2 separate regions of the Homo sapiens genome follow, and region 2 is linked to region 1. Evidence: promoter capture Hi-C in human tissues and cell types (Jung and others, 2019). All regions are on one chromosome and are shown on one strand. Each heading gives the region's core, a stretch centred on a gene start or on the middle of the fragment in contact. The rest is flanking DNA. Distances are from core to core; before and after follow the strand shown. Region 1 holds the start of PPA1 (inorganic pyrophosphatase 1). Region 2 overlaps EIF4EBP2 (eukaryotic translation initiation factor 4E binding protein 2).

The links. Contacts are between HindIII fragments. The study calls those that stand out against the background at their distance.
Region 2: a fragment that was not itself captured here is called in contact with the fragment with the promoter of PPA1 in region 1 in 1 of the 25 tissues and cell types used here (thymus).

What each region holds. Positions count from the first base shown.
Region 1 is chr10:70,229,577-70,235,789 of GRCh38, forward strand. It overlaps PPA1 (inorganic pyrophosphatase 1), which reads right to left and starts at 3,853. Exons shown (of 11, transcript NM_021129.4): 1 at 3,688-3,853; 2 at 765-823. The coding sequence starts at 3,751. RefSeq lists a silencer at 3,495-4,064. The HindIII fragment of the contact is 11,213 bases long and covers 3,335-6,213 here.
Region 2 is chr10:70,422,087-70,425,241 of GRCh38, forward strand. It overlaps EIF4EBP2 (eukaryotic translation initiation factor 4E binding protein 2), which reads left to right. Exons shown (of 3, transcript NM_004096.5): 3 at 1-3,155. Among named protein-coding and RNA genes, the nearest start is that of NODAL, 18 kb to the right of the region's middle. The HindIII fragment of the contact is 4,938 bases long and covers 1-3,155 here.

The DNA.
Region 1 (6,213 bases), core at 2,603-5,102:
TGTATTAACTCTATCTTAACTGTGCAAATCTTAACGGTACTAGCCCGTTACTAAATTTTCCTATACTCATTGAATAATCTAGTTTACTTTTACTGTTTCATAAAGATCCCACAGCCAAAATTCTGTGCTGGCTACCTGGTTTATTTTAGAACCAGTAATGAAGTATTACGACTTTAGTTCCAAATACACATACAAAAAGGACCAATGTAATTTTTTCTTTTTTTTTTCCAAGACAGATTAAATACTTTTGCTTTTACTCCTCCTCTCCTTCCCCAAATTATATTTGCTCCTTTAACTAAATAATCTAGTTTTAAGACTAACTTCTTATTTAGTCAATGGACCTTTTTTTTTGAGACAGGGTCTCACTCTGTCACCCAGCTGGAGTACAGTAGTGCCATCTCGGCTCACTGCAACCTCTGCCTCCCAGGCACAAGCGATCCTCTCACCTCAGCCTTCCAAGTAGCTGAGACTACAGACACATGCCACCATGCCCGGCTAATTTTTGTATTTTTTGTAGAGACAGGGTTTCACCATGTTGCCCAGGCTGTTCTTGAACTTCTGGACTCAAGCCCTCCACCCGCCTCAGCCTCCCAAAGTGCTGGGATTACAGGCGTGAGCCACCACGCCCAGCCTAATCAACAGACCTTTAGCTCACAGCACAACGAGGCATTTTAAGCACTTGTTGAGAGACATATAAGAAAATTCATATGTAGAACTAGCTGATCTGAGTAAAGAGACTGTGTCCAAAAACAAGGATGCCTTACCTTATCTGCATAAATTGGAATATCATGAAATGGAGATATATATTGTCCTTTCTCATTTTCTGCAAAATAAATTAGAAAAAGTTATTACTATAATTAATTGTATTGCTAAATGCCCACAGTACACATTTTTTTTTTCTGAGATAAGGTCCCTTACTCTGTCACCCAGGATGGTGTGCAATGGTGTGATCTTGGCTCACTGCCACTTCTGTTTCCCTCTTGAAGGCTCAAGTGATCCTCCAGCCTCAGCCTCCTGAGCCGCTGGAACTACAGGCATGAGCCACTACGTCTGGCTAATTTTTGTGTCTTTTGTAGGGAGGTGGTGTTGCCATGTTCCCCAGGCTGGTCTCCAACTCCTGAGCTCAAAGCAGTCTGCCCACCTCAGCCTCCCAAAGGGCTGGAATTACAGGGGTGAGCCACCGCACCCTGCACCCGACCAGTACACATTTTTAAACCAAGATATTATTCTTACACTAGAAAAACTGTTTGTATACTTCACTTCTCCTGACTGTACTCCCAGGCTAGGCTGGGTTTACATCCTATGCACTCTGTAGGCATCTAATAAGTACTAATCTCTATAGTGAGAGCAGAGACTACTGAGGACACAAAAGGCGATTAAATTGTTTTGGACTGATCTTACATCAGTTAAGTTTACAGAACCATTATGAAGTACTTGGGAGGAAGGGAGGGGACCACTTTACTAAACAATGTTGCTAAAAGTGGTGTTCCCAGAGACAGCCAGCCATCTTAGATTATGACTTTCTTTAAGGATAATCAAGTTGCAACAAACATCTTCACAAATAATTTCTATTATATTCTAGATATATATTACTAATATATTCTAGAGGCCTAACTATAGCCAAAAAGTAATTTTAAAACTTCTTCAGTATTCTTTAGGAAACCTACTGTCCACATCGCATCCCTTCAAGTTTAAAAATCAAAGTGGAGGCCAGGCACGGTGGCTCACGCCTGTAATCCCAGCACTTTGGAAGGCCAAAGCAGGTGGATCACTGGAGGTAAGGAGTTCAAGACCAGCCTGGCCAACATGGTGAAACCCCGTCTCTACTAAAAATACAAAAATTAGTCAGGCATGGTGGCAAGTGCCTGTAATCCCAGCTACTTGGGAGGCTGAGGCAGGAGAATCACTTGAACCCGGGAGGCTGAAGTTGCAATGAGCCAAGATCATGCCACTGCACTCCAGCCTGGGCAACAGAGCGAGACTTTGTTTCAAAAAACAAACAATAAAACATAAAAGTCCCTTTAGGGCCAATTGTGACTTTGCAGTCTGTCCAGCCCTTTATCAGTTTTAAAGAAATTGACAAATGTAATATTATAAAGCTTAAAAAAGTTTATTTCTATTAAGGAAGGATAAAGCACTTAAAATTGGATAACTATGTAGTGGGTTCTAATTATTAGTATTTCTTAAGTTCCAGAGAGTTCCACTTGATAAAAACAGTTACTTCAGCTAGTGCCAAATTCTAGGAGTAGCTTTGGTCTCCCATAACGGCCACCAAATATTAATTGCAAATAAATAACCTAAGTAAAAGCAGTGTGTTTGTTCTGCATATATAGCTTGAAGATCCACCCCTCACCTTCAAACCAGACAGTCACCTCTGTAAGCCTTTCCTACAGAGAAATTCTGGAGCCAACACTATTTCCAGAAAAACAGTCCCATGAATTATTAGTCAAAAGTTACTGGACTGTCCTTGCTGCTTAATTGCAAAATTAAATAAAATGGAGAGTGGGGGGTAGTTCTCACCCTTCCTGGATTTTACCTGATAGTTAACCTTTGGCTAGATGTGTAAGCTTTACAGTTCGCTTTCCTTTTCCTCCCGCACCAGGCTACTTTTTGTTCCTTCAATGCCTATTCATTCGTCTCCTCTACTCCCCGCTTCCCCTTCCTTCATACACCAACTCAGAGTTCGAGGCACCTGCCCATTTCCTTCCAAATAAAACTGTAAAGAGGTTACAATAGAAGCGCCTGTGGTGACACATTTACGAACGCCTCCGTTATCGCCCATAATCTACTCCTAGTAGCTGGGGGTGGGGGGAGTAAGAGGATAAAGAAAAACCCCAAGTAGCTTTCCTCCACCTACAAGGCCAAAAAAACGTGGTGCCCTAAGGAGCGTGGAGGGCGCCAGCATGCAGCCTCCCGGTTTCCCCGTGCAGCCCTAGGTGCAGGACCCGGGGTAGGTACCCCCTAGACGCCGAATCCTGCAAAGGTAAAAACTTGGCACTTTCTCAGTCTTGTTTCCAGACTGACGTCATCTGTTTGATTTGAGGGAAACAGCTTTCTGTTTCATAAGGAGCATTCCCAGCATCGGCGCTGAGGGAAAACAGGCGGCGCAGAGGCAGGAGCACGACCGGGCCGCGGAGGACCGGTCCAGCGCCTTCACAGACGGCTCCCGATCCGGGCCTCAGTTTTCCCGTCTGTAAAACGAGGGGGTGGACTTGGCTCCGCTCAGCGCCGATAATCTGAGCTACGGCGGCGGAATTAAGGTCTTTAGGAAGTCACTGCCCCCCCCGGCCCGGAGTCGCCTTTTCTCCAAACTGAGCAATCCTCTTACGGGAATTATGTTACTTCCAAGCACCTTTCTAGGGTGGGTCGGTGATTTCCTTTTCCCAACAGACCCTGTCAGAGCCAGACACCTGCAAAACTAGCTGGGCCCAGGTTCGGGTACCCCGAGGCGTGACAAAGGGACCATCTCCGTTCAGCGGGGAGGGATGGCCGGAGGCGACCCTCGCCGCCCCGACCGGCGGCGGCAAGTATGCAATGTGAGGCCGGCCAGGCCCCACAACGCGCCCGAGGAGACGGGCCCGCGTCGGAGACCTGGGGCCGAGCGCGGGCCGCACCCTCCCGGGGAGGCAAGGCCCGGGAATGAATGGGCGGACGGGCGCGGAGGGGCCACGGGCCGCAGACACTCACTGAGGAAGACTCGGTACTCCAGGGAGAAGGGCGCGGCGCGCTCCTCGGTGCTGAAGCCGCTCATAGTGCCGGAGTCCTGCCGCCGCCGCTGCCACAGAGCCACCAGCCCGCACGCGGCGCCGACTGACAAGGAGAGAGCCCCACGCCTGCGCACTGCGAGCACTGGACCGGCGGGCGGGGCGGGGAGCGCCTTTAACGCGGCTCTGCTAGTGTTCCCACCCCCGCCGGGCCAACCCCGTGCGCAGGCGCACTCCGCCAGGCCCGGGTGTCCGCACTCCCCAGCCCCGCCCCTCGGGCCCAGCCTCCGCGATGGCAGCTAGGGCTCAGAGGCTGGGCCACGTGGCTGCCGCCGGCGCTGGTTCTGTTCCTTCGGCTTTGGGCTCTGACCCGGGAGGGCAAATGCGCAGGCTCTAAGCTTGGACTAGCTAGGAGTTGACCGCCGACCACGCACACAGGGAACTCACCTTTGATTCTCACACACTCCTCCCCGCAGTCCTATTCCTTATCTCAAAAGGCGTTGATAAGTCACCTGCTTCCCCAGACAGGCTCTGCTTGCGGTCTTAAAGGTGAGCATTTTTCTGATCCGTCGTAACAAAGTTGAGCCATATTACTGACACCCCTAGTGGCTACTAGTAAGGTACTCGCTTCTCCACTTTCTATAATCTCTCTCACTCCGTTGCTTATCTGGGAAGTGAAGATAATAATATAACTATTTCATGAGTTACTGGGATGATTACCCGAGTTAATACACGTCAAATGCCTGAAGCAGAGCCTGTATCTTTGTAAACAATCTGGAAGTTGTTACTGTCACCCTCCCCAGTGGGGGAGGATTTACGCCCCCGCGCCCCCCGCCCCCTCCATCCCCCCTGCCACCCTACTTAACCCACCTGGGTCTCCAGGGGCTTCAGATGGAAGCACTGGGAAGGTCCAGGCGTGAGCTAGAGTCCCGTGAAGGAGTGTTCTCAGGGACAGGCTCTTCTGATCTTGATTTCCTGTTTATATTCCATCATATCAGGCCAGACCCCAAAAACTAAAGTCTGATTGAGGCAGTGGGAAAATATTTGCATCACTTACCTCCCCAGGAATACATGTAAAAGAAAAAAAGTATATCCACAATCCTAAATATAAATTAGCAAATTATTATTCACATTTCAAAGAATGCCTGGTTTTATTTATTTATTTATTTTAATTTCATGGCCAGGATTTCTTTAAATAACTTTTTCTAGAACATTAAAGATAATGTGCCTTAATGACATTTTGAATTAAACCCTTTTTTCCAAACAATGTCTATTGTAAAAAATGAATATTAAATGAAAACCTAGTAAGATCTCCAGTTAGTTATGGTGTCGCTCCCTTTGTCTCCATCCAACTCCCAAACCTCACTGACACCCATTAATTTTCAGAAGGCTGTGATTCACTGATTTTTTGAACATTTCACCACACTGTTTTACTGCTGTTAAAACAGAAGGGCAGGAAAAAAAATTAGCGAAGCAATAGTTTAGTCAATAATTAGGGTCAAGGCCAGGCGCGGTGACTTACGCCTTCAATCCCAGCACTTTGGGAGGCCGAGGTGGGCGGATTACCCGACGTCAGGAGTTGGAAACCAGCCTGGCCAACACAGTGAAACCCTGTCCCTAGTAAAAATACAAAAATTAGCTGGGCGTGGTTGCACGCGCCTGTAATCCCAGCTACTCGGGAGACTGAGGCAGGAGAACACTTGATCCCGAGAGGCGGAGGTTGCGGTGAGTTGAGATCACGCCAGTGCATTCCAGCCTGGGTGACAGAGCGAGACTCTGTTTCAGAAAAAAAAGTAGGATCAAGTTCAAAGAATATTTTAAGGGGATGCTCTTTTGATTGAACTGCTCTATCACTTTTCTGCCTTTGAGCAGATGGAACCAATTTTCTTGGAAAAACCCAGACTCTCATCTGTGACTGACTTAAGAAGACAGCAGTGATGCAATAATAATGTTCTACATACACTTTCCCTTTGCCTCCTGCCAGCTCAGAGCAAGATAATAAAGTCTCACTGACCTCCAGACTTGCACACTGGCTCTTGTTTCATCGAATGTATTCAGAGAGCCAGTCATTATCAGGTCTGGTAAAACACCCAGCCCTGGTGAATTGTAACTTTCCTTTGCAGGCAAGTGTAGTGAGCCCATAGGCCCAAAAGGACCTTGGTCTACCATGTCTCCCTAGGGCCTAGCACAGTACACAGCCTAGAGTAGATGTTTAGTGAATCTTTGCTGGACGGATAGGTAGAGGAATTAATGTAAAGGTGGAAAATACCTTCTTAAGTACATTAGTTTGACAAAGAAGGAGTCCATCTCTTCTCAAATATTATCTTTCTCACTCAGTGACCAAATCTAGTGGCACTTTTCAGTCCATATCCTGTCCCCTTTGCTGTGGGTGACCCTGTTGGGTGTCTCTAATTTCCTTCTTTGGCTTGCGACTACATTCTCTTCTTTTTTTTTTTTTTCTTTTTTGAGACAGAGTCTCACTCTGTCACCCAGGCTGGAGTACAGTGGT
Region 2 (3,155 bases), core at 1-2,500, 190 kb after region 1:
TGTCCCAAATCAAATATCAACCTACCAACAACTGCCTGGCTGGGAAGTCTGGGGAAGGGATACAGAGCTTGGTGGGCCTAACACCATTCATATTCCTTACCCTCTGTCTCTCCTCCCTGTATCCCACCTATGGTTCAGTGTTGCAAGAGTCTGGGCTTGGGGTCTTTAAAACCAGCAGGGGGAAATGATAAAAAGAGAGCTGCTTTCCCTTTTACCTTGAGGTATTCGTCCCTCGGGACAGAGCACAGCTTGTGCAACTCTGGTAGCGTTACCCTGTGACACTGTTTTGAGGTCCACTTCCTTTCTTTCCTCTGGGAGGAATGTCTTCTGTCTTTGGTATTATAGTTCATCTTCCCATTCTTTTACTTAGTGCATTTGTGCAGATATTTTTAACTCTGTACATCAGAAGAGAGCCCTTGGTAACCAGTTTTGCTCTTCTTCTGCCACTCCTCCCTGCTTGCATCTCGTTGCTGGCAGAGTCCTCTTGTACTTCAAGAAAGCAAAGTGATTTTGTCTGCTCCTAGAGCAGGTCCATACCAAGTAATAGAGGCACTTTAGCTTCCACTTGGTGGGTAAGGCCTGATCATAGTATTCTGTCAGATAATGCCTAAGAATGACCGCTGAAGAACGTTGACCCATTTGAGTACCCGGTCTCAGTCGTCATTTTTAAGTCCAGTGAGCATTGTGGTAGTTGTTCTTAGATTGCAGTTTCTTATGTTTTGAGTTTGAAGTTGATTTTCAGAATGTTCTTAGAAAAGAACTGCATTTTTTTCCTTTGTGGATCTGCTTTGTTTGGCTGCTGGGATAGATAAGCATGGGCTTAAAAAATGTGTTCCTCCCAGTTTTCTTGCCTTTCCTGTTGTACTCTGAATTTCTCTCCCTACCTCCCTCACTTTCTTCCTCTCTCCTTCCTTTCCTTCCTTTTTCTCTACCAGGCCATTTTTCAAATTTACATCAAAGATACCTGAAGTGTTGGTATCTGAGAATATCTGTCACTCCTCTTATCTGAGAAGTGACCTTTTATTTTTAAGATGACTACAGACCTATTTTTAGATATGTTTTCAGTACAATTTTGAACAGCAACTTTTTAATTAAACATCTTCCAGTGTTAGGAAGTTGAGAAACGTTCATAGGCAAGTCTGCTGTTCTATGTCACCATCTTTTGTCTCCCCTAGTCCCCCAGGAGCTCTTTCCTTTCCCCTCTAGTTTTGGGTGTGCATGTTTGGAGTTTGTAGTGGGTGGTTTGTAAAACTGGACCATTCTGCCTTGCTATGGGTTGTTCAAGAAAGCCTCATTCTTTTCTGTGACCCTTTCGCTTTTGCATTCACCCTCCTTCCCACCTACCTGTCCTGGGGCTGTTGAGCAGCATAATAATCCCGGGAGAATGATTCCCCTCATAGAAAGACAAAAGCATCCATCCCCTCATAGTTAAGTAGCCACTGGTGTCCTGGGAATTTCTGGTTGGATTTGGTGCCCTGAACTTTTTTATTAAGAAATCAGATCCCAGGGTGAGAGTAACAGGCCATTTGGCCAAGAAAGAAACCTGTTTGTTTTTCTTTTGAACTATGAAAAGACCCTGTTTGTGAATATATTTTAGAAAGAGAGGAAGGATGTCTGCAGAACTTTGTTCTGTTTTCTGCCACAAAAATGTGAATAGTTCAGAGTGAAAACCTTTTGTGATGGTTGATGTCTCAGGAATAAGCTGGATCTCCAATGTTTTGGGGATGCTTTGAGTCTCAAAAAAAATTGATAATCAGAAAAGTAATTTTTGTTTGTTTGTTTAATGTATCCCTGTTCTGTTTTTAATTAAACTCCAAGTCTCATTTTACATATTCTTGGAAAAACCTAAGTTGCTCTGTAATTTACATAAGAAGCATGCTCAGGACCTCTTTGTACCCCGGGGAGCCTGATTCTTTGGGAATGAAGCTTTTCATTCTTCATACACTGGCCTTGGCATCCTGTGGAATTTGACCCAACTAGCAGCTAGTCAGTCTGTCAGTGAGCAGAAGAGTGAACTCTTCTTGATCTTTATTGCTATGTGTGAAAACTTGGCTTCCTCACTGAACGGTGAGGAATGGATTTAAAGCATGAGCTTTAGTAGTATCAAGATGCCATTTTCCTTTTTCTTGCTGTCTTGGGGAGCTTCTGCATGTGACCCCCTAATCAGAAGGCATGTTTTTAGTATTTCTTGGGAGTGTCAGCTGTATAATGCAGCAGCTGTTCAATCCCTTACCCTTCTCTGCAAGGACTTCCTTACAGCTTGGTGCAGTTCTTTCCCAGAGGCCACCACTACTAGACAGTCTTTCTTTTATCTTATGGAGATAAATTGGCATTTAAAAAATAATTTCACAAGGCATGAGATAAACTTTCAATAGATGATACCTTTGTGTCATGCCTCATGGAATTATTTTTAGAACAAGCCAGAGTCCATTGAGTGGTTTACCTCTGCATGTTTGGAGGGAACCTCACAGATGAAACCCTTAATGAATAATGTGTCCGGGGTTTTTTAGAGAGAAGGAGCACTCTTAAGTTACCACTTTGAGACAGCTCTTAACATCTTAGTGACCATTTGTAGTTTTCTTTTTATGAGGAACCCATGCTTCTATACTTGGGCGGACAATCGAGCTTAATGAGAAGTGACTTCCCTTCAAATTCCAACAGCAGACATGCATTGTCATGATTCTGTCTTCTTTTTAGTGTGGTTTATTGAGTTCAGCAGTTCTCATATTCTGTTTAAATAGGTACAGCATTTTCAAGGGCACAGATACAGAGAAGCTGGCTTTCTAGGTATTGGGCTTCCAAGCCAAGAGTTTTGTCCTTCCACCTGTATTAGTTATCTATTGCTGTGTAAAAAATTACCCTAAATTTAGTATGTTAAAATAGTAAACATTATCTGTCAGTTTCTGTGGGTTAAGAATTTGGGAGTAGTTTAACATGATGGTTCTGGCCCATGGTATCATGAAGTTACAGTCAAGATTGAACAGGGGCTGCAGTCAGCTGGAGCTGGAGAAACCACTTCCAAGTTCTCTCTTTGTGGCCGTTGGCAGGATGCCTCAGTTTCTTCCCATGTGGGTCTCTGCGTAGGGCAGCATGAGTGTCCTCACACCATGACACCTGGCTTCTCCCTGAGCAGCTGATTCCAGAGATCATGGGGC